Linked DNA regions of Homo sapiens: regions 2, 3, 4, 5, 6 and 7 are each linked to region 1. The links are contacts of gene promoters, found by promoter capture Hi-C in blood cells and fetal thymus (Javierre and others, 2016). All regions are on one chromosome and are shown on one strand. Each heading gives the region's core, a stretch centred on a gene start or on the middle of the fragment in contact. The rest is flanking DNA. Distances are from core to core; before and after follow the strand shown. Region 1 holds the start of MRPL50 (mitochondrial ribosomal protein L50). Region 2 holds the start of MIRLET7A1HG (miRlet-7a-1/let-7f-1/let-7d cluster host gene). Region 3 holds the start of ZNF169 (zinc finger protein 169). Region 4 holds the start of FANCC (FA complementation group C). Region 5 overlaps RAD23B (RAD23 nucleotide excision repair protein B). Region 6 holds the start of RAD23B (RAD23 nucleotide excision repair protein B). Region 7 holds the start of ERCC6L2 (ERCC excision repair 6 like 2).

Region 1 (3,956 bases), core at 981-3,480:
AATGTATACATGTATACACACACATACACAATATTTAAGGCTGAATAAAATGCCATAAGTGTGTCTATATGTATATGTGTACCTATGTATGAATATATGTATATATTATGTGCTTGCATATATACACACACAAAAAATGGCATTTTATTCAGCCTTAAAAAAGGATATTTGTAACACATGGATGAACCTGGAAAATATTATGCTAAGAGAAATAAGCCAGACAGAGTAATACCACATGATCTCACTTATATGTAGTATCTAAAAAGTCAAATTAGGCCGGGTTTAGTGGCTCACGCCTGTAATCCCAGCACTTTGGGAGGCTGAGGTAGGTGGATCATGAGGTCAAGAGATCGAGACCATTCTGGCCAACATGGAGAAACCCTGTCTCTACTAAAAATAAAAAAATTAGCCGGGCGTGGTGGCGGGCACCTGTAGTCCCAGCTACTCGGGAGGCTGAGGCAGGAGAATCGCTTGAACCTGGGAGGCGGAGGTTGCAGTGAGCCAAGATAGCGCCACTGCACTCCAGCCTGGAGACAGAGTGAGACTCCATCTCCAACACAAACAAAAAAAAAGTCAAATTCATAGAAACAGAGAGTAGGATGGTGGCTACCAGGGGTGGCGGAAATGAAGAGACGTTGGACAAAGGTAAAATTTAAATTATGTAGAATGAATAAGTTCCAGAGATCTAATGTACACCATGGTGACGATCATTAATAATACTGTACTGTATACTTGAAATCTTCTGAGAGTAAATCTTAAGTGTTTTCACCACACACACAAAAATTCTAACTGGCCAGGTGTGGTGGCTCACCCCTGGAATCCCAGCAATTTGGGAGGCCAAGGTGGGAAAATTACTTGAGTCCAGGAGTTCAAGACCAGCCTGTGCAACATAGTGAGAACTCCTTTCTCTAAAACAAAACAAAACAGAAAGTATGTGAAGAGATGAATATGATAATTATCTTGACTAATAATCAACATCAAGTTGTATATCTTAAATATATAAAATTTTTAAAATAGTAAAGAAAATATAATCATCATTCTCAGTAATCTATTTCCTCTAGTTTTCTTCATAATTTACCACTTTCTGAAATTACATTACACATTTGTTCATTTCTTCCTCCATTAGAACATATGCCCTACGAGAACAAAAATTTGGTCTGTTTTAGTAACCACTGTATTCTTACAACACCTAAGATATAGCCTGGCATATAGTAAACAGCCTAAAAAATATTTGTTGAGTGAATGAATAAAACAAACTTGGAAGAGATTTGAGAGATAATAACAAATATTGACCAAAGAAGAGGGAAAGCTAATATCTGAACTGATGAAAAAGATCTTTCCTAATTGTAGTGGTTTTTGTTTTAAACCTAAGAGAGCATACATTGCTCCCTAGGGTTCCTACCATACGTTTTGATTTCCTAAACACTATCTAAGTCAAATTAGATTTACCTTCAAACAATTACACATGGTGCAGCCGTGCAGCAGAAAAAGCAGTAGATGGGGAGTTAGGAGACATATGTTCTAGATCCAGCTTTGCAATTAACTTGCTTTGTGACTTTGGGAAAATCACTTCCCTCCTGTGGGCCTGTTTCCTCATATGTTGGAGTACCTCGAGGATGAGAATGGATTTTGTTTTTCCTGCTGTATCCTAGGCGCTTAGAGTAATGCTGGCCCTAAGAAATCTGTTGAATGACTGAATGAATGAACAAACAAAAGGAGGAGGCAGTACTTCATTACTGAACCTTGCTTGTGAAGAAACACAGCCGGCAAATGAGTTTAGTTTACCAAGCGCTTTCATGTGTTTGCAGACAACACACTCGGTGTCTCGCACACGAGGTTAATCCTGCTTGCTTAATAAATAAATGAATGAGTGAAGTGAAAAGGAAAGGGGGTGGTATTTCCGTTATAAAATGAGAAAACTAAGGCCGAGAGTGGAAGAGACTGGGTCCCACCACTCAATGAGTGCTTCTCAACTCGGGACCCTAACCGGACCTCCTTGTCCTTGCTCTGATCAGGCGCGGGACCACGATGGCGTAACACTCTATTTTGAATTCGTCCCTAATCCTCCTTAACTTTCCTTGAACATGACCCACCGTCCACCATAAAGCTTTACCTGAATCGAGACCAAAATTCTCTACATGGTGTCCCTGAGACTGTCCACATGAAGACTCTTCTGGTAATGCCCGACACAGATCGCGCCGCCATCTTCGATGAGATCCACGGGCCTGAGCGCAGCCTTCAGCCAGCAGTGACGCGCCCAGACCAGCCAATCGGATACAATCCCAGTGGCAAGAGCTTTCTTTTTCCTGTAGGCTCCCTCGCCCTTTGCACGCTGGGAAATGTAGTCCAGTAGCTGTTGCTGGCGGCGTCTGGACCGCGGCGCTCTTTCCGAGCATGACGGGAGTTGTAGTTGAGGGGGCCTCGGGAAGAATCTGGGTGACGCCTTCTGGTCCGGGGGCGGGCGGTCATAGCGTTACTTGGCTGCAAGGAGGAGGAACTGGCAGCGGGGAGGAGGCTCTAGCGAGGCCTGAAAGGCTGCGTAACCAGGCAGGAGTAGGGGTTGGGGTTCGGGGTTGGGGGACAGCCAGGGATCGCGTCTGATATGCTGTTGGGGTCGTGACCGTCTGGGGGCCGAGGCAGGCACTGGCCAGACCCAGCCAGGGATCCTCGTATTCGTCGAGCCTAATTTCCAGCAGCCGGGTAGGCCTCACCAGAGGCTCCTTTCCGTGAGGCCGCCCCCAATTCCTGCCCCTATTCTCTGCCTGGGAGATGGCTTCCCCGAGCCCCCCGCCGGAGTCGAAGGTAAGTAAGCACCCCCCCGGGGATCCCGGTTGTCTCGCCGCTACCCCAGCTAGGCCGCACCACTGCTTTCTCCCCCAGGCCCCCCACCAACCTCCTGACCGCCTCTTTAGGGCCAGCGCCTTGCAAGGAACTCCCCACTAGTGCATTGGGGTGCGGTTCGCGAACAAACTGCCCACTGGCTCCCTTTTTTTTTTTCTTTTTCTAGAGAGACTTGATAAATCGGCCTGAGAAAATAAGTAATGCTCCAGACTAGCTCTCTCATTTGTGAGTTCTCCAGGTGAAGCACCATTTTTGACCTTCCCTTGTGTCTTCTGTTCCTGGCACAGTGCCTGGACCCCAAGGTACACGCTTAGAGAACCTCAAGGAATTGAATTGAATAGAGTCACAAGCCAGTGCAAATGGAAAATTGAAGTAGGCAATGAGGTGAGGGAAGCTTGGAGAGGCCTTGGGGCAGTTTACTAAAATTAAACTCTCAGGGCATAATAAATCAGAAAAGCCTTATCCGTAGGTCCTTTCTAGTCTGAGATGTCTGTCAGTTACAGTTCGTTCCCAGAATTGGGCAACATATGGAACTTTCAGTTATCATGTTCCTCCTAGCCTACTTGGCCACAATAAGTGATTGCCTCTGTCACTTTTAGTGGTAGAATTGTCCTTGAGACAACAGGAACTGACTACAGAAATCATACTATTTCAGGGGTTGCTGACATTTGAGGATGTGGCTGTGTTTTTTACCCAGGAGGAGTGGGATTATCTGGACCCAGCTCAGAGAAGCCTGTATAAAGATGTCATGATGGAGAATTATGGAAACCTGGTCTCACTGGGTAAGAATCTGCTGTTTCTCTAATTAAAATATCTAAGAAGGTAGAGAGAAATCAGACTAACAGAACATTTGGACGGAAACCAGTACCAAAACTGCTTTGTTCCAAAGTTCTGATTCAAACCTTTTAGCCATTAATTGTTTCCATAACTCTCATCCCTAGCTTCCTTGAGGTGACCAAACTGCAAGCCTTTCGGGCATCCTGTCTTCATAATCTCATTCCCATATTGTTCTGTACTTTCCGTCCTGGCTCATCCTCCCACAGCTTTCCTCCCACCCCTTTTCACTCTGCGTTCTGGAACCCCTGTTCGTCTTCACATAATGTTCCTTCCCTCCT
Region 2 (3,956 bases), core at 621-3,120, 7.2 Mb before region 1:
ACTTTTACAATATTTCCAATTTTTGTCTTTTAACTTCAAAGTTTTTAAAATTCAGTTTTCATTTATATTGTCAAATCCATTAACATTTTCCAAATGGATTCTACTTTAGCGTCATTTAGTTGACCTTCAAGGGTAAAAAATGAAGCACAGATAGGAAGGTAAAGGGTAATGTATGTCATATGCACTTTTGCAAACTCACCAAGAAGTTTCCGATGAACATATGAAGAAAATGTCAGAAGGGCTCATAGTGCTATAAGGCTTCTTATTTCTTCTAAAACACACTGGCCCACCAGCCTCTACTACCAACCTCTAATTGAGGCTCACAGTACCTCTTAACTCTGATATCCAACAATATCCTGGTTTATTTGCTAATGCTTTCTTCCCACCTCAGCCTACTTCATCATTATTAGATATCATTTAATCCTACCCTACTGCTGTGCTAGGTACTTGGCATAGACAGGAACAAAACAGTTTCTGCCCTTGAAGAGTTCCACATCCCCTGCAGCATAACCACACTCTTCCCCTGAACTGTACTCGATCTAGCTCTGGGGCCTGCTCTCTCCTTTCTCAATATATCTTCTAACCTCAAGAAGTCCTCCCCAAATCCTACCCATGGCTTAAGCTCAAGTTTCCCCCCCTCTAGTTTCTTGTTCACTTTAGCTCACAAAATAAAGTCCCCATTAAAAACAAAACGAAACAAACTCCTTTGGCACTTATTGCATACACTAATATGAGTGCTAAAAGGGGAGCTGATACCACCACCTAAGATCATAAATGTAAACGTACAGCATGTCAAGTACTATTTCCCATAGTTCTATTACAGACAAGGACCCACTTTTTTAAAAGTGTTGCACAAAGTCACAATGAATTACAAAAAGCAGAGCTACAGCCCAGGTCTTGCGGTTCCCAGCCATAAAATCTTAAAACTGGCAGAGACCTCAAACGACACCTTAACTAGTGATTTCAGAGTCCTAGCATGTGAAAGTTGTAATGGGGATGGAGGAACTGGGCTTTGGATTAATTTTAAAACAACAAAATCAAGGATTGCTTTGAAAAACATTTGAAGACAAAAATCTTCAAAACATGGGTTGGAAAAGATAACAAAAAAAAGCTCAGGGAGGCTGAGGTGGGAGGATCTCTAGAGTCCGGATGTCGAGGCTACAGTGAGCCGTGACCCACGCCACTGCACTCCAGCCCTGGAGAAAGAGCGAGAGACCGTGTCTCGAAAAAACAAACAACAAAAAAACCCTCAGACCCCAAAACGTCAAGGAATAAAAGTAAAAGGTTGGGCGGACACAACTCCTCCATTTGACAGATGAGCAAACTGAGGCACAGAACTCCAGGAGGCCTGGCCAAGGCCTCCTGGAGGGAACAGGGTCAGTTGACGGAAAAGAGCCAGAGGCTGCACGCTGGACAGCGTTCGGACCTTCCGGGTCGCGCACGTGTAAATTGCCCCCAGGAGCCTGAGGGAGCAAAGCAGCCGCCCCGCCCCGCGGGCAGCGCGTTCAGCGGCCACGTGACACAGCCAGCCCATCACGCGCAAAGGGCAGGGCCTGGAGGACACCACCCCCGCCACTCTCTCAGCCCTCCACTAGGAAAGAAGGAGATGGTATTGGTGGGCGGGCCAGACCCGCCTCCCCCACGGTGGCCACCCCGCGCGAGGCGGGCCCAGCCGCCGCCCTCCAGTGAGGGGACGGACGAGCTCAGCTAGGCCAAGGCGAAAGAGCGACGCGCACTTCAATCAGACGGCTTCACCAATGGGCTTGCGCGCTTTCCGCGGCGCCCGCCCCTGCATCGGCCTCCCGGCGACCGCGCTGCTTTCCCTCAGGCCGCCGCGGCGGCGCCCGCCCGCGCCTCCATCCGGGTCCTGGCGCGGTGCTCTCCCGGCAGCGACGGGCGCGAGGGCCGGGGCATTCCCACGGCCGCGACGGCCCTCTCCGCGAGCGCGAGGTGGGTATGGCGGACGCGGCAGCGAGCGCGGGTCCGTCGCCATTTTATTTCGCGGAGACTCGCGGCAGCGGGTGGGCAGAATGGGAGAGCCGTGCGCCGGCCCGCGCCTGTCCGGCTAACGCGGGCTGGGACTGGTGGGGCGGCCTGCCCCCTCCAGCGGGCGGGTGGCCCCGGGGGGCCGGCGGGCTGCTAGCGGAAGTCGCGGGCGCTCGGGGCACGGGGGAGGGGTGCCGCGTGGCCGCCGCGGGGCCGGCTCCAACCCCCTCCGCTTCCCGCCCAGCTCCTCACCGACAGGGCGGGGGAGGGGGGGTCATTCTTCACATTCCTTACCCCGCCCTTCCCCCCGCTTCAATCAAACTTGGGGCGGGCGGAAGGCCCGCCTTCCGGCCGGCGCCTGTTGGCCGGCGCCGCCTCTGACTGTGGCGTGACTGGTTGTAGGCGCCGCCAGGTGCCTCTGACGTCACTTCCGCTATCAAGTTTGTGGGCCGGGGAGACCTTGGCCTTGGGGGTTGGGATGAAGGAGGGAAGGTAGGAAGTGCGAGGGGCGGGGGGACAGGGCGGGAAGGCGCGGGCGGGGAGGGCGGGAGAGTCGTGGCTGGCTGCATGCCCCTGCTCCCCGCGGCCAAGTGCAGCCTCCCTTCCTGAAGCAGCTGCTGCGGCTGGAGGTCCGCTGCGGCAGCCGTCCTTGGCGAGGGGGAGGGGAACGCGGGAGCGGGAGGAAATCGTATCCCGGGGGACGGGGCTTGGAGATTTGCGACTCGGTGTCACCGGAAACAGCGCTGGCCTTTTGAGTCGACGCTGCAAACTCTTGGAACCGAGTGCCTCTCAGAAGGCTTGCTAATAAACTTCCCGGGCGGGCTCTAGTGTGAGGAATGTGGTAACCTGTATGTCCTTGGCCAGTAATGCCCTTCGGTCTTTCAACTTTTTACAGTAGATTCTGTGTCAGAGGTAATGGTATGTATTCTTCAACTTACCGGTTTTTAAAAAATTGACTAACGAGAGGGCGGGCAGACAGGAAAAAGGCAGGGAAGACAGTGAATGTTAAAATTTTGAGGTAAATCAGGAGACTGGTTGAGTTTTGCTTTTTAACTTCATTGATAATACTGCTTTCTTGGCATACAGTTCCTAAAGTTAAAGCATCATGTGGCATTCCTTTGCATTTATTTCTGTTGGCCTGAAGTATAAGAACATTGAATGTCAAATTCCAAATTTATGTGTAGTTTAGGAAATAATTGTTTATATCCAGAATTCTTTTGGTGTTTGGCGGGGTCTGGTTTTATTTACTGTATATTCGGGAAGTATGTGTAGTTAGGGAAGTAAAAACTTGGAAGTTACTTTGGGTTTTGTGAGAATGTTTGATTCATTATACATATTTGTTAAAAGTTTACTTTGAAACTTCAACTTTGAGAATAGACAAATTTCTTGACGTCCTGTAAATTCAGTGGTATTATATAGCATTTTAAAATTTATCACTTAGGTGCAATTACAGTGTGAGGGGAAAAGTTAACTTTTTTGAATAGTTACATTGCAGTGACAGCAAGAGAGTATTTTTATGTGTAGACAGGCTGTGGGTTCCCCTCACTTAAATTGAAGCTCTGTTGAACTTGAGACACTTAAGAATCTTGCAAGTGTGAAAAGTGGAGTGAAACAAAACCATTTCTAAAACGAAAATGTGTAACTGCGTTCAGTTTTACACAGTGAAGAAATAAGTATTAAACAAGTTAGTCTCAAACGTTTATATCTTAAGGTCATTTTATTCCTGTTATCATTAACTAGACATATCTTGGTTTAGAGAGCAGCACACAAGACATTGTGTACTTTTAATAGCTAAGATAGTATAATAACTACTCATATGGGAATTACCGAGTGTTAAGAGCGCCAAACTAGTGTTTCAAACTGTAGGTCCTGAGTTATAGGGTCATGAAGTCACTTTAGTGGGTGGTGATCCGAATTTTTTAAAAAGTAGAAAATATTCCATTGAATACAAAATAGCGTGTTGATTCAGC
Region 3 (3,956 bases), core at 934-3,433, 7.1 Mb before region 1:
AACAGACATTATTCCTGTTCTTTTTGAGCTCACAGTATTGCCCTCTAACCCTTTCTAGTGTTTTTTACCCCTAATTTTGAGGAGTTTCCTCACATGTACATGCTGGTCAGCACTTAACTAATACCTGAGGAAGAGGACTCTCTGCACATCTCTGGCGCTCTCTCTCCCTTTCTGTACTCTGCCCTGTGAACTCTAGATGCATATGCCTCCTCAGATTCCCAGTTCCATCTCCTCAAGTTGAACTCCATGCTTCACTTGAGTTTCCCTTCTCTGTGCTATGACTTGGAAATTCTCTCCATCTGCGGGAAGTTCAAAGGCTCACCTCCATGATTTCCACTGCTCTTCATTGTCTGATGTCAAATGTCTTCAAATGTTTCATATATTTTGTCCTTTTAAATGTTGATTAAGGTGAAGGGCTAAATCTGGTTCCTGTTACTTCATTTTGAGAAGAAGCAAATAGGAAGTAACTTAAAAATACCACTTTTTATCAAATTCTTAGAAAAAGAGTATAACTCATTTTGCAAAGACTTTGGTATGTTTTTGAGCGTATTATTCTGTTACATCTAATAAACAATCTTTGCATTAGTAAGATAACTTTAATTGCTATAGTGTTAAATGTCCTCAAGTTTAGTTTTTCCTTATCTTCTTGTAATCAATTGGAATTAAAAAAAAAACTTCAGAATCTTCTTCTTTATAACAGGAAAAAAAACCCCAGTATTTTTGGCATTTTTAGAAGTACATTCATACACACTGTCATTTAAAACATGGGGGTGGGAGGTGGAGCAAGATGGTGGAATGGAAGGCTCCACTGATCATTCCCCCTTGTAAGAAAAACAAGTTAACAACTATTTACACACAAAAGCACCTTCACAAGAACCAAAAATCAGGTAAGCACTCGCAGTACCTGGTTTTTACTTCATATGACTGAAAGAGGCACTGAAAAGGTAGGAAAGACAGTCTTGAATCACCAATGCCCCTGACCCATCCCCCAGCAGTGGCTCTGTGGTGCGGAGAGAGAATCTATGTTCTTGGGAGACGGCAAGCACAGCAATGATGAGACATTGCATTGAACTCAGTGCTGCCCTGTTATACCAGAAAGCAAAACTGGATCAAACACAGCTGATTCTCACGCATGGAGGGAGTATTTACACCAGCCTTAGCCCGAGGAGAATCACCTATCCCAGCAGTTGGAATTTGAGTTACTGCCAATCTCACCACCTCTGGCTAGAGGGCCCTAAATAAACTCGAAAGGCAGCCTGGGCCACAAGGACGGCTCACGCCTGTAATCCCAGCACTTTGGGAGCCTGAAGTGGGAAAATTGCTTGAGGCCAGGAGTTCCAGACCAGCCTGGTCAACATAGCGAGACCCAGATTCTTTTTTTTTTTTTTCCCCCTTGAGAAGGAATCTCACTCTGTTGTCCAGGCTGGAGTACAGTGGTGCGATCTTGGCTCACTGCAACCTCCACCTCCCGAGTTCAAAGTGATTCTCCTGCCTCACCCTCCTGAGTAGCCGGGACTACAGGCGCCCATCACGACGCCCAGGTAATTTTTGTATTTTTAGTAGAGACGGGATTTTACCACATTGGCCAGGCTGCTCTCGAACTCCTGACCTCTGATCCGCCCGCCTCAGCCTCCCAAAGTGCTGGGATTACAGGCGTGAGCCACCGCGCCCGGCCGCGAGACCCAGATTCTAAAAAACAAAACAAAAAATTAGCCCGGTGTGGTGCTATGCACCTGTATTCCCAGCTACTCAGAAAGTTGAGGTGAGAGGATTGCTTGGCCAGGGGTTTGAGGCTGCAGTGAGCTATGATCACACCATTGTACTGCAGCCTGGCCGACAGAGCAAGACCCCTTCTCAAAAAATAAGTAAGTAGATAAAGTTCAGGGGTGTACAATCACAGGTGTGAATTTGCAGGATGGAGGACATGTAACATCTTTTTAAAAAAAAAAAAAATTAGAAGGACCGTATAAAAAGTTAAAGAAGACTTACTGCTCACCTGACCACCCTTCTCATAGACCCGAAAGTTAGATTTTACTTTCTGATTTTTCACAATTTCTCCTGGATGCTGCGGTCCCGCCCCTCGCAGCATTCTGGATGTTGTAGTCCCTCGCTCCAGGGCATCCACGGTAGGGTAGTTGCGCGCCCCGTGGCAGTCTGGGTAGTGTAGTTCCGTGCCCAGGGGCAGTCCGGCTCGCGTACTTCCGCGTTCCGGCATCGTCGCCTGGTGCGTGGTGAGTGTCCTTTCACAGTTCTGGTGAGCTAGCCCGGAGGTGGTCCCCGCTTTCGCGGGCCTTCCACTGGAAGGAAGGTCGGGAAAGCTGGCATGGGCAGTCCATGTCGTGGCCACATGTTCCTTGGTGTTTTGAGTTTCGGCTGTGGGGTCTGGGCGTGCGTGGTCCACCCCGGAGAGAGGTCTTGGCGGAGGTCCTCTGGTGGGGAGGGGGCGTTGGCGTTGTCGCGTGCTTCTGGCGGGACTTTGGGCCCAGTATGTTGACCTGGAGGGGCCAGTGCAGGCCTGGGACCGACTTCCCGAGCTACTTCGCAGGTGCGTCCCCGGTACTTCGGGGGCCGCTGAGTGGGCTCTGCCTGGGGTACCCAGACAGCATCCTGCCACTAGTATCCCGCCATCCCCTCCCCACCATCGCGCCTCGGAGGTCTCTGGGCCAGCAAATGTGCCTTTGGAGGACATGATATCCTCGGTTGGAGCAAACTTCCCCATTAGTGGGAGGCACGCGGCTTGGGCATCAGTCGGGTTGTTTATTTGTTTATTTATTAAATTTTATTTATTTATTTATTTATTTTTGAAACAGAGTCTCTCTCTGTCGCCCAGGCTGGAGTGCAGTGGCGCAATCTCGGTTCACTGCAATCTCCGCGCCCCACCCCAGCCGCCGGGTTCAAGCCATGCTCCCGCGTCAGCCTCCCGAGCAGCTGGGATTACAGGCACCCGCCACCACGCCCGGCTAATTTTTTGGTTTTTGTTTTGTTTTGTTTTTTTGAGACAGAGTTTCGCTCTTGTCGCCCAGGCTGGAGTGCAGTGGCGTGATTCCCCTGCCTCAGGCTCCCGAGTAGCTGGGACTACAGGCGCACGCCACCACGCCCGGCTAATATTTTGTGTTTTAGTAGAGACGGGGTTTCACCATGTTGGCAAGGCTGGTCTCGAACTCCTGACCTCAAGTAATCCCCCCGCCTCGGCCTCCCAAAGTACTGGGATTACAGGCGTGAGCCACCGTGCCCAACCTCAGTCCAGTTATTAGGGCTCTTGTGGATGGCTGGTGCACTGTGGTGGTGATGGTGCAGCTTGGCCACTAGGACCCGGGTTTGTGGGGGAGGATTGTTTGTGGGTAGACATCCAGACTTGGTCTTGATAGTGGGGGGGGGGACGGCTAGGGCCGTGCGACTCGGGTCAGTAGCCTTGGGGCCTGGGGACCCAAGTTGGTGAGTTGAGAAGGGCTTGCCTGGAGTTAGACATCCCTGGGTTGTGGGTTGCATGGGGGCGTGCTTGTATCCAGATTGTCGGCTTCTGCAGCTGTGTGGCTCCCTCGGACTTGGGGACCCTTCCGGGAGCATGGGTTGCAACAAGCAGAATGGTGCCCATAGGGCCAAGGAACATTTTTCTCAAGCCTCAGGGGGCTGTTGAGTGACTCCTTGAATTCCTGGAGGTGGGGGAAGAAGTTGGGTGGAAGGCATCCAAACCTACATTTTTTTTTTTTTTTTTTTTTTTTTTGAGATGAAGTCTCACTCTGTCGCCCAGGCTGGAGTGCAGTGGAGTGATCTCAGCTCACTGCAACCACGGCCTCCCGGGTTCAAGCAATTCTCTGCCTCAGGCTCCTGAGTAGCTGGTACCACAGGCGCCCGCCACCACGCCCGGCTAATTTTTTTTGTATTTTTAGTAGAGACGGGGTTTGTTTTTTGTTTGTTTGTTTGTTTGTTTGTTTTGAGAGGGAGTCTTGCTCTGT
Region 4 (3,956 bases), core at 694-3,193, 6.1 Mb before region 1:
TCCTCTGGCTCTCTCCATGGCCCAGATAATCAATCCAACTTTCTACTGGCCAGGCTGGCCTCCCTGTAGCTGGTTCTCATAAACACGAAATTTGTATAATTGTTATTGGAACTACCTGCTGAAATATGGAACTGGTTAAAAGTACCATTTGTTTTAAAATGTACATGCACAGTTGCACATACATGCAGCAACACATCTTCCACAACCAGCCAATCAATCAAGTTAATGCTTTTTATTAGAGGACAAAACAAAAAATACCAATATAGAGCCTGCTTTTCTTTTCTGATGCCTTGGTAAACGTTTTTGGAGAAATCAAGAGAAAATATGACCGAATAAAGCAAAAATAAATTCGAATGTATAATATACAAAGTATAATTAGTCCAGTTCTCAAGAAGCAGGCTCTATTACTGGGAGTAGTGGGTTGGTGAAAAAGATCTCTGATATATCTAGGAAAACAAATTCTTTTTCGATGCAGCCTTTCTTGTATATGAATAATGTATATGAGTGCTTATTTCCAGGTGACTCTGGTACAGCACATAACATTGAAACATCAATTCAAGTTTAATGTATAAAGTCGCAATGAACATGTTTTCCATCTAAGCTTAGGTAATGAATGATCTCAACACATGGTATGAATTCTACTGTTTGTAACAACCTTTCAGGGGAGTAAGGAGAAAACGATCTGTCTGAGGGCATATCACTGACAGTGAGTGACAGCCACAAAGAGCTGAAGTTGGGTGGCCCAAAAGTGCTCTGCTCATTTGATAAATGCTAAGTCAAATCACATCACAGTTTAGATGCATTAAATGGGGCACAAGTTAGAATAAAATCAGATGCCCGGGAGTTTTCCAAGTTTCAGATTAGAACAAAAGTCCAGGCACATACAGGACTTTGCTAGAAAACTCCTTGGTCTCTTCCCTTAAGATTCTGGTACCCAATTTCCCATGTTATAAAACTCCAAGTCTTTTCCCCCATTCGGTGCGCTGGACACATAAGATCATAGAGGGTTCGTAGTTGTAAACGCACCCACCTAAAAAATTAAAAAGAGCAAACCAACAAACAGCACCTGAAAAATCTCTCACGGGCTTTGAAGATATGGCCTGGCGTCCACAAAAAGAATGGAGGGAAGACACTGGCCTCTGCGAACCCGCCTCCCTCCGGGAATAAAAGGCGGAGGGCGGGAGGGGTAACAGCCGCGCCCCGGGCTCCTCTAATTGGACCTCGCCCCTCCTGGCGCCCCGGCGAATGGGGTTTGGGGGCAGGGGTGTGAGGGACGGGGAGGACGAGGCCAGCTGTAGAGGGCGACCGGCTCAAAGGGGCGAGCTTTTCACGGCTCCCACGAGTCCGAGGCAGAGAAATTCACCTTTGCTCCTCTCCTTTGAAGAAGACATAGCTGCCTGCGCTCAATGAACAAAAAGAACCAAAACGCCAACACCCGGCTCCCGCCTCTCCGGGGGCTCCCTTCCGCGCGACCCCAGCGCCGGCTCCCGCCCCCGCTTTCCCCGCCCTGGCCCCGCCCCGCGGGCTGGCACCGCCCGCCACCTTCCGCCTCCCGCCTCCCGCCTCCCGCCTCAGCCTTAGCCACAGCCCTGCGCCGGCGGGAACCCCTCTCGCCCACCGCAAGGCGCGCCTGGCCCACCCGCTCTCGCGAGCCTTCCCTCTTGCCCCTCGCCTCCTCCTCCCGCTCTCGCCGCTGACGTGTCGGCCAGACCCCCGAGGGAAGCCTCCGCCCTCGCTGCGTTCTGCGGCCTGCCGCTTACCGGGTGGTCCTCGCGGGAGCTGCTTCAGCAGTTTGGGCAGTGGCGGAAAGGAAGCCACCGCCCGGGATCTGTGGCTTGAAAATTTGGCTTTGCCTCGTATTGGCTTTTTGAGTTTTTTTGGAATTTTCCCGCGGTCGCCCGGCAGTGGAGCCGCGCGCGCGCACACGTGTCAGCAGTGCATTCTGGGGCCTGGCTAGCGGCCCCGCGCGCTCCCGCGGCGTCGCGGGAAAATTCCGACGAATCTCGGGTCCGTGGGGCGGGGCGGGCGCGGCCAGGGCTCTGGCGGAAGTGGGCCCGGCTGGGGCGGGTTCTAGGCGAGCGGAGTCGGTACTGCTCCAGTGTTCCCGGTTTCGCGCGGAAGCCCCGGCGGGAGCAGGGTTGCAGCAGCGCCCGCGGAGAAGGGGCGCTGGCTTCTTCCATATTCTGTTCAAAATGTAGGGGAGGTAAAATGGAAATTAGTTCTTTTGAAGAAAAGTTGAGGCTTTGTCAACGGGGTAAAACCTCTAAAATAAGATTTTCTAACTGCGTTCTAAACAATAGCAACAAAAAAGGCATCTTCAGTTAATGATTTCCCCTACCGTACATTAGTTCCATACAGTGTTTGGTCGGGGTTCAAATCAGTTCAACGCTGTACATAAACCACCCAAACAAATATTAATAAAATTTTCTCCAAACTCCCATTTATGACAATGGCATTAGCTTGTCTTGGTGAATTTTTTTTTCTTCTAGGATCTGACGACTTAAGCTTTAAAATGTCTTAAATCAATGCCTCACAACCATAAATCATAATCATAAAACTACAGCTTAGGTCGGGCGCTGTGTCTCAGGCCTGTAATCCCAGCACTTTGGAAGGCCAAGGCGGGCGGATCACGAGGTCAGAAGATCGAGACCATTCTGGCCAACATGGTGAAACGCCGTCTCTACTAAAAATACAAAACGTTTAACCGGGCGCGGTGGCGGGCGCCTGTAATCTCAGCTACTCTGGAGGCTGAGGCAGAATAGCTTGAACCAGGGAGTCAGAGGTTGCAGTGAGCCGAGATCGCGCCACTGCACTCCAGCCTGGCGACAGAGGGAGACTCCGTCTCAAAAAAAAAAAAAAAAAAGCTACAACTTCACATATACGTTCAAAAACACACTACAGGCCGGGCGCGGTGGCTCACACCTCTAATCCCAGCACTTTGGGAAGCTGAGGCGGGTGGATCACCTGAGGTCAAGAGTTTGAGACCAGCCTGGCCAACATGGCAAAAACCCGTCTCTACTAAAAATACAAAAATTAGTGTGTACTCCCGGCTACTTAGGAGGCTGAGGCAGGAGAATTGCTTGAACCCAGGAGGCGAAGGTTGCAGTAAGCCAAGATCGCACTACTGCACTCCAGCCTGGGCAACAGAGCGAGACTCTGTCTCAACAAAAAACACCACAAAGCTGTGTGTGCTTGTAATAAAAATAGCTCTCAAGTATTTAAACATGTCCAACTATTCCTATGGTGAAGAAATACCCGTTTTACCAATGAATACTTTCAATTCAGAGACTAATTTGCAGAGGTTATACATTTATAAGTGATACAATAAGTATATAGCATAGCAATAGCAACAATCTGTTTAAGAATTAAAGGTAGTTAAAAAAAGGAACCGATCCAGAGGTTGAGACAAAACTGGCAGAATCTGCAACTACATTAAGGAATTCGGTGTTTACATCCATTCTCGAAACTATTCCATGCCAGTTAAGGAAGTCGGTGCTTTTTGATTGTTTTTTAATTTTAGATTCGGGGGTACATGTGCTTGCTTGTTACATAGGTATATTGTGTAATGGTGGGGATTGGGCTTCTGGTGTACCTGTCCCCCAAACATTGAACATTGTACCCAATAGCTAATTTTTCAGCCCTCACCCCCTTCCCACCCTCTCCCTTTTTGGAGTCCCCAGTGTCTTGTTATTCCCATTCTTATGTACATGTATACCTATTGTTTAGCTCCCGCTTATGAGAACATGCAATATTTGATTTTCTGTTTCTGAGTTTGTTCACTTAGGATAATGTCCTCCAGCTCCATCCATGTTGCTGCAAAGGACATGATTTCGTTCTGTTTTACAGCAGAGAGGTCGATGTGTTTTTGATGTGTGCATAGTGTGACATGGATAAATCAAAAGCAAGTCCTGGGTAGGGAAATACATGCCTGAGGGGCACTCATCGTGGCACCTTGA
Region 5 (3,956 bases), core at 707-3,206, 5.9 Mb after region 1:
AGAGATGGGGTTTCACCATGTTGGCCAGGCTGGTCTCGAATCCAACCTTAGGTGATCCGTCTGCCTTGGCCTCCCAAAGTATGGGATTACAGGCGTGAACCACTGTGCCCAGCCTTAATATTTTTTAATCAATTTTGATTTCTTTGAAGCAAAAGTTATTTAGTAGTAAATTACTAAAGGGCCTTTTTTTTTTTTTTGGTCCAGCTTTTCTTAATTTATGGGGCTTTTTTTTCCTTTGGTCCTCCCTCATTTTTGATATAAAGCTAGAGAGTCCCGTTACTTATTTAAGCGTTTTGAAATATGAAATATTTAAGTCTGTCTTATACTTCATTGTAACCTGTCAAGAATGAGATATTCCTGCATGTTTATTTTCTTTTATTTGTTGCTTCATATGTGTCTTTTTTTCTTCACATATGTCTATGCTCTGTTCATTTATTCATCCAGCACAGGATAATGGAGCACCCACTCCATGCCAAGCCACTATGTATTGTTCTGAGAACTGGGTTTATGCATAGAGATACACTTGGTCTGTAATTTATTTGTAGTTTTCCTAAATAATCACACTTGCAAATATTGTATCCTTTTGTCCCTCTACAAACAAAGTTTGAGAAGAAATTTACCATACACCACTGAGTGCTCCACCCATGCTCTGCCATCAGTTGGTTGACTTGGCAAGTCTCTTAGCATGTAGGATAGCAGTCTTCAAATGACTTGGTTTCAAGACTTGTTTACATTTAAATAAGTTATTGAGGGCTCCAAAATAACTTTTGTCGATATGCTTACGTTTTATTTTATTTATTTATTTTTTAAGGCAGATTCTCACTCTGTCACCCAGGCTGGAGTGCAGTGGTATGATCTTGGCCCACTGCAACCTCCACTTTTCAAATGATTCTTGTACCTCGTCCTCCCAAGTAGCTGGGATTACAGGCATTTACCGCCATGCTTGGCTAATTTTTTTTTTTTTTTTTTTTTTTTTTTTGCATTTTTAGTAGAGACAGGGTTTTACCATGTTAGCCAGGCTGACCTCGAACTCCTGGCCTCAGGTGATCCTCCCACTGCAGCCTCCCAAAGTGCTGGGATTACAGGCATCAGCCACTGCGCCTGACCCAATGTACTTACATTTATTAATGTTTACCACATTAGAAATTAAAACAAACTTTATTAATGTTCATTTAAAAATAAATATAAACTTATTATAATAAATATTATACTTACTTTTTTTGCAAAAAATAACTATCTGCCAAAACAACAGTAACACCAAAGCACTGAAAAGACTGACACTGTTTTACTTTTTTTTTTGCAAATCTGATGTTTGGCTTTAAAAAAATTTTACTTGTGTTTTACCTTTGAAATGGGGAACAGTGGAAAATAGTGGATTGAGATTTTTGTGATGGATTTCTACTTTGGGGAACATCAGAATAGCAGTGATGCTACTGACCCATTTCAGGAAGATCAGTGCAGCAAGGAAGGTTTATATGGTATTTGCAAAATACTCTGCTTGGAGTCATAAGGGGTGGTAACCTCTTTATTTCCGTCTCCTCATCTATAAAATTGAGTGGGTGACATTTCCTTTTGTCCCAGAGTTTTGAGGATTGTGTGAAATTGTATGTTAACATCTGAAGCTAAATAAGCTTTTTTTATCTTTGAAGTACACACCATCACTTTTTAATTGTACAAAAGAAACCTTTATTTGTATCCCTTTCTGTCTAAAACTCAAGAGAACTGTCAACTTAGATAATTTTCAAGAAGTATTGAATTTTTCTCCTTGGTTTTTGTGCCTTTAAAGTAATGAAAGTAGTTCTATAAAGGCAAATGGGAAAGCCATCTCTGCCTTTTTTACTCCTGTACCTCCCTACTTAACAAGTTAAGAAGTTCATTAGACTCATTTTTGTAAATACTGTATAATGAGCCTAATTGTCACACAATTTTAGGAAATGAAGAGACTATAAAGGTCATGGATTCCAGCTCCTCTTACAGATGAATGAAGCTGATGCTGAGAGAAGCTAAGCTGCTTGTTTAAGAGCATTGAAGTTGTCTGGAGGTTTTCAGCCTGGGCTGAACTTTGGAAACACCTGTAAAACTTTTTAAAAATACTGATGTCAAGGTCCCACTCTCAGAGATTATGTTTTAATTGGTGTTTGTAAAGTCCCCCTGGTGATTGTAATGAAACATAACACTTAAAATGAATCATTTGCCTTTTAACATTCACAATTTAACCTTTAACATTGAAGTATTCTTATTGTTGATGAGACTGTTTTATTTCTTAGATTTTTTAGGTGATCAAGCTTTACTTTCTTGCTCCGTGGGAAATAAACCCATGAACAGTATATAAACCAAAACTTTGATGTTGAAAACTTTATTTTAAATTATCAGTTCAACTAGTAAATTTTTAAAAATCTGTGTGTATCAGATGGTGTTAAAGTTTATGGCTATCATAACTAGTAATATGAGTTAATGTTGAATCTTTTTTGATATAAATTGGAAAAACATAATATTTGAGGTTTTGGAAACATTAATAATTATGTATATAATTTTTGTCTTCCATTATTTATTCAGATTCTGGATTGTCATTTTTTATTTAGACTTTTTCCAAAACAAATCTTTATTTTTCCTATAGGTGAAAGCACTGAAAGAGAAGATTGAATCTGAAAAGGGGAAAGATGCCTTTCCAGTAGCAGGTCAAAAATTAATTTATGCAGGTATGAATTAAATATTAAAATTAACATGCCATGTCTTGATATTCTTTTAGTTTTAGAAATGTTATCTTATATATTGTAGTATATTCAAATTGTCAGAAAAATGATTGTACAAATAAAAGCAGTGAAAGAGCAGTCATTTGAATCTAATATTAATATTCAATCTTCTCTTTATTCACATTTGCCCTGTGTATTTTTCCATCAAATGGTATTAGTTTTGTTTTATCTTTTGTAAGCATCGTGTAACTGGCTTTTGTTTTTTTAATCAAACGGAGCTTTTTTTTTTAAATTGAATTGAAACCATTTATACTGATTGTGTTATTATTAGTATGCTTGGAATCATTCCTGTAAAATTATTTTAACCAAAACTAACTGAAGAGTACAGAAAAAACACATCACACAGACACCTACAGGAAGAAAAAAAATTAATATTCAGATTATGTAAAGAATTCTTAGAAATCAGTAAGGAAAGGATGACCAATAAAGCAACAAAGGATAAGAGTAGGAATTATACATTTGACTAGCCTCACTAATAACCAGGAAAATGTATATTAAAAATACATTTGATATCCAAATTTTTAGAGAAAATGCTTTCATTGTAGATGTTAGTAAGGTGGGTGTTTGATCACCCATGGATTCTTCTCTTTTTCTGAATAGTGTTTCCTAAAGTGAGACAGCCTGGAGGAAATGCTAACCTGGTGATTCAGTCCCATTATTTTTATAGGTCAGAATTCAGAAGCCTAAAGAAGCGGACATAAAATTCAAATTTCCAGTTTCTTGTTTTGGCCTGTTTTCTCATTCCTATCCATATTCCTTTCTGACTTAATGTTAGCAGCTTTTGATTCAATAGCTTTTTAAAGGTGGAAAACTAAATTCATGTAGCAAGAAACACTAGAGAGTCCTAGCTACCTAATAGTGACCTTCAGCACGACCACAGTTTTGTGTACTTCGTGCATTTCTAAGTTCTGTAGCATCTTGCCCTTTCTTGTGTATCATGTCGTTTTCTGAAGTACTTTTAGTATCTTGCTTTGATAGTGTTAGAACATTTCTGATTTATCAGATATCAGTATTTTGGGGAGCAGGAAATTTGTTTCTCTCCCTTTCTTCATATCATAAAAGAATATAGGTTATTTTCCAGAGGACCCCTGTGCAATCGGAGTATTGAATTTTCTTTATCTTCATGATCTCCTCCTTTTCAGGGCCTCTTTCATATTTCCTTGCCCAGTAAGTCTTTTATATAATCAATACATTTGTAAAAAT
Region 6 (3,956 bases), core at 881-3,380, 5.9 Mb after region 1:
GCCATAAACTAAGATGGGGGAAAACTGGGAGAGGGGCAGTTTGCAGGGGGGAAGGAGGTCCAGAGAGAAATCAATTGTTCTCTTTGGCCACATTAAGTTTCAGAGGCTTGTTACATATTCAGGTGAAGATATTGCTTAGGCAATTGGCTAACTCTATAGCTAAGGGGAAAGGTCCAGGCTGGAGGTATTTCAAAACAAGGGCCAAGATGAAACCACCTGGTGACTACGAGTAGATACAGGAAGACAGAGGGCAGAAGATTGCATATTTAATTACTATGAAGGGAGTTATGTGTTGTGAAAGGGGAAATATCAGGTTAGTGGAGGGAGAAGCTGGTCAAGGAAAGTTTCTTGAAAACATTAAACCCAAGCTCCTTGAAGCCACTGAAAACCAAGCAGTGACATTGTATTAGTGAGGATGCTGTCCCAGAGAAGTAATTTGTAATTGGTCATAGAGCTAGTGGCCTGACTAGAACTGTGTTTTATACTTGAACTAAATCAAATGTGCCACAGGCACAGTATAAAACAGAGGAGAATAGCTGGGAGCGATGGCTCACATATAATCCCAGCACTTTGGGACTCCGAAGCAGGAGGATTACTTGAGCCCAGGAGTTCAAGACCAGCCCTGGCAACATAGGGAGAACATATCTGTACAAAAAAATAAAATATCAGCTGGGAAGCAGTGGTGTGTGTCTGTGGTCCCAGCTACTCAAGAGGCTGAGGTGGAAGGATCTCTTGAGCTCAGGAGGTTGACGCTGCAGTGAGCCGTGTTTGTGCTACAGCGCTCCAGCGTGGATGACAGTCAGACGCTTTAAAAAAATAAGAATAATCTTTAAAACAAAAAACAGGGGAATAGTGGCACACCCTGGGACACAGACTCTGGAGTCATTCTGTCTGAGGTCACATTGTGGATTTGCCATTTACTACTGGCTGGGTTATTCCAGGTGCATTACTCAACATCTCTGTACTTCAGTTTTCTATCTGTAAACGGACTTTCTACTAATAGCTAACTGCTTACAGACTGTTTATCATGATTTTACATACAATATTCAACTTCCCCCTCCAATAATCAATGAGTGACATTATTATTCTCATTCTACTGCTGAGGATCCAGAAGCACATTCACCCATTCCACAAATATTTACCGTGCACCTGCAATGTGCCAGGCATGTTCATGGGTGAACACAGCAAAATCTTTGCCTCTGTGCAGCTTCAGTCTGGGGTTCACAGGAAAAGGAGAAAGATGATAAACAAGAGATACGTACATTACAGGGTAATTATAAAGGGATACCCGCTATACAAGAAAACAGAGCAGGATAACAGAGATAGGAAGTTGGGATTTTAAGTAAGGCAGCCAGAACAGACCTCACCAAGAAGGCAATATCTGAGCAAGGATGTTAAGGGAGCCGGGGGCAACCTAGAATCCACCAGTGGGGAGAGTAAGGCGACTCGGAGAAAGGCGAGGGGCTAATGCATCCGTTCTAATAACTCTGACTTTAACTCGGGGCTAGATGGGGAAACACTGGACAGTTCTACCCCGAGGTGTGACAGAACTTGACCTTCATTTTAAATCGGTCCATCTGTTTAGGCTAGTGAGAAAAAACAATATTTGAACTCGGGCAGTCCAGCTCAGGAGTCTGTGCTGTCGGGATTAAAGAATCAGTCGACACCCCCAGGGCTGAGCCCCGCAGCAAGCGCCCCGCGGGTGCTGGCCCCCAGACTGTGGTTACCGCCATCCTTTCACTTAAACTCCGCCCCGATTACTCCCCCGCTCCAGGGCTCCGCATCCACTCTGCCGGGTCTCCACGAAGCGCTTCCCGGGCTACACATTGCGTAACTTCGGCAGCCGGGCGGAGCCTGCACAGAGGCGGAGCCGCGGCAGCCGGAGAGAACGCCCCAGCAATAGTCGCTAGGAGGAAGCCCCAGGAGCCCTTGCCGCCCACGGAACGCGCCTGCGTAATCCGGGTCCAGGCCGCCGACATTCCAGGACCGCCTTCCGCCCCGCCCCCAATTCTGGGGCGGAGTCCTCGGCCGCGCCGGCGCAAAGCGTCGCCGCACCCCACGCCTGCGCGCTTCGCCCGCCCGGCCCCATCCCCCCAGGTTTTTCGCGTGGGGGAGGGGGCACGTCTCGGCGAGTCACGATGATGGCGGCCACCATCCTGTGGTGAGCTAGCGGATTCCCTGCTTGTCTCGCCGACCCCCTCGCGCCTTCTGCAGACTCCGTGGCTGGCGCTCGGCGCGTGAGGAAGCACGGCGGCCCGAGTTCGCGGGGAAGGCCGCAGTCGCGGAGGCAGCGGCGCGGTCCGGGGCACGGGCTGGGGGAGAGGCCGCTCCGCTGGGCGAATGTGACAAGCCCCCACCCCCACCGCCTTCCTCCCCAGAGCGCGAGGAGCGCGGGCGACCCCGGGGCCCCGCCAGGCCACAGACCCCGCCCAGCGGCCAGCACCCGGCGCAGGCCCGGCAGCCGAGCTGCGCGGCGGCACCATGCAGGTCACCCTGAAGACCCTCCAGCAGCAGACCTTCAAGATAGACATTGACCCCGAGGAGACGGTATGCGCGCGGGCCGGGGGCAGGGGCAGCCGCGTGCGGGCCGCGGGGAGCGCCAGGAGCTCGTGGGGCCGGGCGGCGCGCTCCAGCGGGGGAAGCCCCGGAGGGCGCGATGAGGGCCCTGGGTCCTGGTGCCGGCCCTGGCGGCGTACAGCGGAGCCGATCCTCCTGTCTTGGCCGTGGGCTTTGTGGCAGGAGAATGGGGAAGCAGTGGCCGGACGCCGAAGGCCTGGTGGCAGATGGCGTGGAGCGCACGCCCGCGGGCCTGGGCCTAGGAGCTCGTGCTAGCGGGGCCGGAGGGGGATGGGAAGGTCCAGGCCGTCTCAGCCGTAGAGCCTGGCTTTCTGGTATGGGTGCACAGGTGGGGGAGGGAGACGTAGGCGTCGCCACTACCCCTGTGTGGACCTGGTTAGCCGCTTAGTTCCCAGAGTTGGTAACCCGAGAAGATGAGCCTTAAGAAAAAAAAAAGTATCAGGTTCCGTTTGCCGCCGAGAGGTGAGTGGTGGTGAAAATGAATTTGCCCCTTTCCCCTCAGAATTGTTTACCCTTTTATTTGCAAATGAATCGTTCTGCTGCCTTCCTCCCGCCACCAAACCCACACCCTTGCGTAGATTGCACTTTGAGGCCTCTTTGGTGATGGTTTTAGCTGTTAGAGCTCTTCACAGCCATCCAGGCTCAAACTAAACTTCAGATTTAACGGGTTTTCTGTGTTAGAAATCTTGGAATTGTAGGAGTTGGAACGCTGCAGCCACCCTCCCCCGATGCCCCAAACAGTAGCAGTTCAAGGGGGAAAAAAGAAAAAAAAAACAAAAAACAACAACTTTGAATCCTTTCTGCAGTTAAAGCCTTAAACATTTCAGAAGTCCACATTATACATTTTTCTGTATTTGTGACTGCATAAAGAGACACTGTTGAGGTCAGTACAACTTTATGCCAAGAATCTAAAAACGCTGTGAGTGTAAATTTACTGCTTATGTTCGGAAATACACCGCCAAGATTGTCATAATACTAAGTTTAAACCAGCAGCTTTCTGCCCAACTCTATTTTTAAAAGTAGTTGATTCTATTTTGGGTGGAGATCAGGGGCTTTGGTGTTAAGTAGACCTGAGTTCCATTTGTGGTTTTGTAACTTATTTGCTATGACCTTGGGCAAATTACGGTTAGTTTCATTCTCTGTATAATAGGGATAATACCTGCCTTGCAGAGATGTGAAGATTAGATGGTATGTATTTACTTGGTGGTCAGTAAATGGAATCGATTATTTAAACAATGGATTCCTTTGAGTGGAGATACAGTGTTACGTTTTACTTATCTCATTTAATCTTAAGTTTTGTACATCTTTAATTTTTTAAGAAACAGCCTTTTTGGGATTTTGGTACAAAATTATTTGATTTCAGAATATTTATATGTGGG
Region 7 (3,956 bases), core at 772-3,271, 5.5 Mb before region 1:
TTTTAAGATTTCCAATATCAGGGTGCATGTCAGAATCAAGAATTACAATTATAATTAGTAGTGTTTTTCGCTGTGTCGCCAGATTAGAGTGCGGTGGCGCAAACTCGGCTCACTGCAACCTCTATAGACCTCCCGGGTTCAAGCGATTCTCCTGCCTCAGCCTCCTGAGTAGCTGGGACTACAGGCATGTGCCACTACGCCCAGCTAATTTTTGTATTTTTATTAGAGACGGGGTTTCACCATATTGGCCAGGATGGTCTTGATCTCTTGACCTCATGATCCGCTCACCTTGGCCTCCCAGAGTGCTGGGATTACAGGCATGAGCCAACCGCGCCCGGCCTATTAGCCAAAATATTAAACTGACATAATGGCTATGTAGAATGCAACTTTCAAGTGGATGCATTCCATTGATAATAATAGTAATAACAACACATATATTCCTTACTATGACCAGCTACTGTTTTAGGAGTTTTACTTAATTATCTAATTTTTTACAATTACCATTTTTAGGTAGTTTACTATTATTAGCTTCACTGTAATGGTGATAGGTGAGTACAATAAAACACGGAGAAGTGATCTGGCCAACAACTCACACATAGATGGCTGAGTTAGATGTTTCACTTAGGCTTAAAGTTATTGCCTGCTGGTAAGCAAACAAGTCATATTTTAAATGAAGCATTTTATGAACACATACTACTAGTTTTTAGTATCTGCCATAGAATTGAGATCTATTTGCAAACAGCCATATTGTTTTCTTAAGACACTACTGTAGGCAGAATAATGATCCCCCAAAGATGTTTATCTCCTAATTTCCGGAATTCGTGAATATATTAGCTTACATGGCAAAAGGATTCTGCTGATGTGATCAAGGGCAGAGACCTGGAAATGGGAAGATGATCCTGGATTACTCAGGTGAGCCCTCAGAATCTTTTCCAGCTGCAATCAGCGGTAGACTTGAGGATGGAAGGTTCAGAGAGATGGCATATCACTGGCTTTGAAGATGGAGGAAGGGACCAAAGCCAAGGAATGTGGACAGAAGCTGGCAAAGGCAAGCTAAGGATTGTCCTGTGGAGTCACCAGAAAGGAGTGCAGCCCGGGTGACACCCAGGTAGCACTTCTGATCTACAGAACCGTGAGATAATAAATGCATTGTCTGTCAGATGATAAATTTGTGCTGTTTCAAGCTACAAAGTTTGTGGTTTTTGGTTATTGTGGCAATAGGGAACGGATACAGGCCCTGTCAGGTATTTCACTCAATCCATGAAATACCTTACAGTATACAAATTTTAACATGCGCGGGAGCCACTTACGGATCCGTCTATCTGTGCTGCCTGGGAGTGTCAAGAGGCCGTGTCCTTCATTCACCTCGCGCGTGGGCGGCGCTGCCCTGAAGATGCTCCCGGGCTCAGTGCAGACGGCTCAGCGTTCTCTCGCGTTCAACGAACCGCCAGAAACGTCAGATGGTACGGAGGAAAACACTTTACACTTTAACAGTATTTTTACGTTTATTTGCAGCAAATGTTGTTGGCTTTGTATTTAAAGTATTTATGACTCACTATAAAGTGTAGGATCCAAGAAAACGCGCTAGTTTCACTTGGCCCCCGTGGCTGTCCCGGGGAGCTCTCCAAGGAAGGACTGGTTCCTGAAGTTCCTGGGGTGCTGCACCACCACGGAAGAACCAAGCTCCACAGAGAAGCCAGAAGCCGCGACCGCGGGGACGCTCTCTGCCAGGCCTCCACCGCCTCAGCGGCCCTTTACAGCCACCGCATTCTCCATGCCCCCAGTTATTTCTAGCTTCGCACAGCGCCCGGCCCACCGAGCGACCTCAAACCTCGCGACACTCGCAACTCCCGAGGCCCTTCCTGCTACTGGCCTCAGAGGGAAGAGACATCGGGAAGATTGCTCCGCCCACAGAAAGGAAGATTTCGTTCTCGCGAGATCCCAATGACAATTCGGGAGCCCGTTCTCGCGGGATTTTCCAAGACCGGGTTGGAATTTGCGGGGGTTAGGAGACGGAAGTCAGAGCCTAGGAAGATTTGGGGGTCGCCTTGCCGGCCTCCTGTCCTCCTCCGGCGGCGGCGGAGCCCGAGAGAACTAGGTGAACACCGCTTTGCCAGCCTCACACAGCGTCCCCTGGCTCTGCCGCCGCTCCGGACGTCGCCCTCCCGTTCTGCTTGGGTCCCCTTAGTCGCTACCTTTGCTGGGATCCCCCTCCTCCATCCTGTGGCTTCGGGTTGCCGAAGAGCGATGCTCGGAGGGCGGCCGGAAGTGGCGTTGGCCGCCATTGGCCTGCCGGCCAGCCACCTTGCTGTCCTCCGCCGCCTTCCGGGTGTTACATGCAGCCGGGCTCGGCCCCTCCCCCTGGCCGGATGGATCCGTCGGCGCCACAGCCCCGCGCGGAAACCTCAGGCAAAGGTACCAGCTCCGCGCTCGCCCCTTACGCAGAGGCCTGTGTACTGCGTCGCGTTGGACCAGTTCTTGCCGGTGCCCTTCGGGTTGGGGTTTTGCCCTGTAGATCCTCTTCAGTGACAGCTGCAGATTGTGAACCCCTCCAGGCCTGGAACCAAATCTCCGATTCAGTGTTGAGAACCTGGACTCGGGAGTCAGCCCCTGGGATCTAGTGCTGCCTCTGACAGTTACTTGCTGAGCAACTTTGGGCAGGCTCCTCATCTGTAAAACTGGGTTCATTACTAGGTTCTTGCGATTATTAAATGACGTGGGGAATACGCAAAGTATTTATGTGACCCCGCGTGTGGCCCATATTAAGCACTCAGTAAATGTTATTTTCATTCTTTATTCTTGTATGCCCCAGTTGTTAGTGAATGGCAGAAGTTTGTTGTAAGTAGATAAATGAAGGTTGAGATATTTAGTTCAGTTGAGTTTTATTGCCTATTGAGTCAGGGCATTATATTCTGCCTTAAATAGGAGGTTTAAAGAAGGTGTGATTATCTACCACAAGTCACCTGGGATGCCTTCTGGCACCCAAATGAGTAGTTTTCATTAATAATTGTGCTGTATAACAAAAGCTACCAGGTATTGAGTGATTTTCCTGAGCCCAGCAATATGCTGATTGTTTACTTGCTTTCCTTTGAGGAAGATATCGATCTCATTAAATAGATGAATTCAGAGCTAAAGTTCAGAGAGGGCAAGTTACAAGCCTGAATTCTGAGGTCTAGGAATTGATGACGCTGTAATTCAGGGACCAAACATATAAATACCTATAGGAGACTGGCAGCTAAAAATAGATGAAGCTGCCGAGTGGATATTGTGACTGGGAGGCTCATTCCTTTTGATAAATCTAGTCACTCTTGGTATTTAGGGAAATTGGTGGAAGGAGCAGAAAGCTCCAGGGCCCCGAGGTGGGAACACCCTTGAGGAATGCTTGAGGAGGCCTTTGGAGTGAAAGAGGGAGAGAGAGACCCTATCACCAGAATGAGTTGAGTTGGTAATTAGTTTAAACCAAAACAAATGATTTCGACTCATTAAATTTTAGGACACTTAACCCATTTCCCTGTTAAATCCAACAGGAAATCTTAACAATTTAAGCAGTTGTTCTGTAGTTTGGATACTGAGAGATTCCATTTCTAACTCAACTGAATTTATTTCGTCCTAGAAATTATCCGAACTCAAACCCAAAATACTCCAATAAGTTGTGTGATTCCCTTAAGGCTTTTTTTTTTTTGCACATGCTGTACACTTATCTGAGATACAGTTCTTAGACCCCTTTCCCTTTTAAATTACATTTCTCAATACTCCCTTCTCATAGCACTCTTCTTCCAATGCAGTTTTTACAGTTATGTATATGTTGGTGTACTTTTTAGTTTTCTCGCAAGATATCAAGGATTTGTGAGATTGATAATTTGTAATAGGCCAGGCGCATGGCTCACACCTGTAATCCCAGTACTTTGGGGAAGCTTAGGCGGGAGGATAGTTTGAGGCCAGCCTGGACAACATAA

What was found. Contacts are between HindIII fragments. The CHiCAGO score rates a contact against its expected background, and 5 or more counts as called.
Region 2: a contact is called between a fragment that was not itself captured here and the fragment with the promoter of MRPL50 in region 1, in 1 of 17 cell types (naive B cells). The highest score is 8.0, in naive B cells.
Region 3: a contact is called between the fragment with the promoter of ZNF169 here and the fragment with the promoter of MRPL50 in region 1, in 2 of 17 cell types (monocytes and fetal thymus). The highest score is 9.7, in monocytes.
Region 4: the fragment with the promoter of FANCC here is called in contact with the fragment with the promoter of MRPL50 in region 1 in 2 of 17 cell types (total B cells and naive B cells); the score reaches 12.7 in total B cells.
Region 5: a contact is called between a fragment that was not itself captured here and the fragment with the promoter of MRPL50 in region 1, in 4 of 17 cell types (naive CD8 T cells, total CD4 T cells, activated CD4 T cells and 1 more). The highest score is 7.3, in naive CD8 T cells.
Region 6: the fragment with the promoter of RAD23B here is called in contact with the fragment with the promoter of MRPL50 in region 1 in 5 of 17 cell types (activated CD4 T cells, total CD4 T cells, non-activated CD4 T cells and 2 more); the score reaches 12.7 in activated CD4 T cells.
Region 7: a contact is called between the fragment with the promoter of ERCC6L2 here and the fragment with the promoter of MRPL50 in region 1, in 1 of 17 cell types (total B cells). The highest score is 8.5, in total B cells.

What each region holds. Positions count from the first base shown.
Region 1 is chr9:101,396,388-101,400,343 of GRCh38, forward strand. It overlaps MRPL50 (mitochondrial ribosomal protein L50), which reads right to left and starts at 2,231. Exons shown (of 2, transcript NM_019051.3): 1 at 2,114-2,231. The coding sequence starts at 2,205. It overlaps ZNF189 (zinc finger protein 189), which reads left to right and starts at 2,464. Exons shown (of 3, transcript NM_003452.4): 1 at 2,464-2,802; 2 at 3,497-3,623. The coding sequence starts at 2,770. RefSeq lists enhancers at 1,344-1,873, 1,874-2,402, 1,935-2,464. The HindIII fragment of the contact is 1,128 bases long and covers 2,106-3,233 here.
Region 2 is chr9:94,164,432-94,168,387 of GRCh38, forward strand. It overlaps MIRLET7A1HG (miRlet-7a-1/let-7f-1/let-7d cluster host gene), which reads left to right and starts at 1,827. Exons shown (of 5, transcript NR_170278.1): 1 at 1,827-1,950. RefSeq lists an enhancer at 1,192-1,756 and silencers at 1,452-2,251, 2,482-2,551. The HindIII fragment of the contact is 4,683 bases long and covers 1-3,956 here.
Region 3 is chr9:94,257,115-94,261,070 of GRCh38, forward strand. ZNF169 (zinc finger protein 169) reads left to right here and starts at 2,184. Exons shown (of 5, transcript NM_194320.4): 1 at 2,184-2,231. LINC02603 (long intergenic non-protein coding RNA 2603) reads right to left here and starts at 2,197. Exons shown (of 3, transcript NR_160773.1): 1 at 1,997-2,197. RefSeq lists enhancers at 1,703-2,348, 2,187-2,506, 2,349-2,995, 2,537-2,666, 2,996-3,641. The HindIII fragment of the contact is 11,618 bases long and covers 1-3,956 here.
Region 4 is chr9:95,315,766-95,319,721 of GRCh38, forward strand. It overlaps FANCC (FA complementation group C), which reads right to left and starts at 1,944. Exons shown (of 15, transcript NM_000136.3): 1 at 1,761-1,944. RefSeq lists a silencer at 1,296-1,615. The HindIII fragment of the contact is 1,904 bases long and covers 600-2,503 here.
Region 5 is chr9:107,297,524-107,301,479 of GRCh38, forward strand. It overlaps RAD23B (RAD23 nucleotide excision repair protein B), which reads left to right. Exons shown (of 10, transcript NM_002874.5): 2 at 2,618-2,699. Among named protein-coding and RNA genes, the nearest start is that of RAD23B, 16 kb to the left of the region's middle. The HindIII fragment of the contact is 654 bases long and covers 1,630-2,283 here.
Region 6 is chr9:107,281,149-107,285,104 of GRCh38, forward strand. It overlaps RAD23B (RAD23 nucleotide excision repair protein B), which reads left to right and starts at 2,131. Exons shown (of 10, transcript NM_002874.5): 1 at 2,131-2,547. The coding sequence starts at 2,482. RefSeq lists an enhancer at 1,460-1,619 and a silencer at 2,110-2,669. The HindIII fragment of the contact is 9,258 bases long and covers 1-3,956 here.
Region 7 is chr9:95,873,670-95,877,625 of GRCh38, forward strand. It overlaps ERCC6L2 (ERCC excision repair 6 like 2), which reads left to right and starts at 2,022. Exons shown (of 19, transcript NM_020207.7): 1 at 2,022-2,415. The coding sequence starts at 2,370. It overlaps ERCC6L2-AS1 (ERCC6L2 antisense RNA 1), which reads right to left and starts at 2,308. Exons shown (of 3, transcript NR_023390.1): 1 at 2,196-2,308. RefSeq lists enhancers at 1,193-1,322, 1,553-1,602, 1,643-1,742, 1,877-2,751, 1,883-2,112 and 1 more. The HindIII fragment of the contact is 4,005 bases long and covers 1-3,912 here.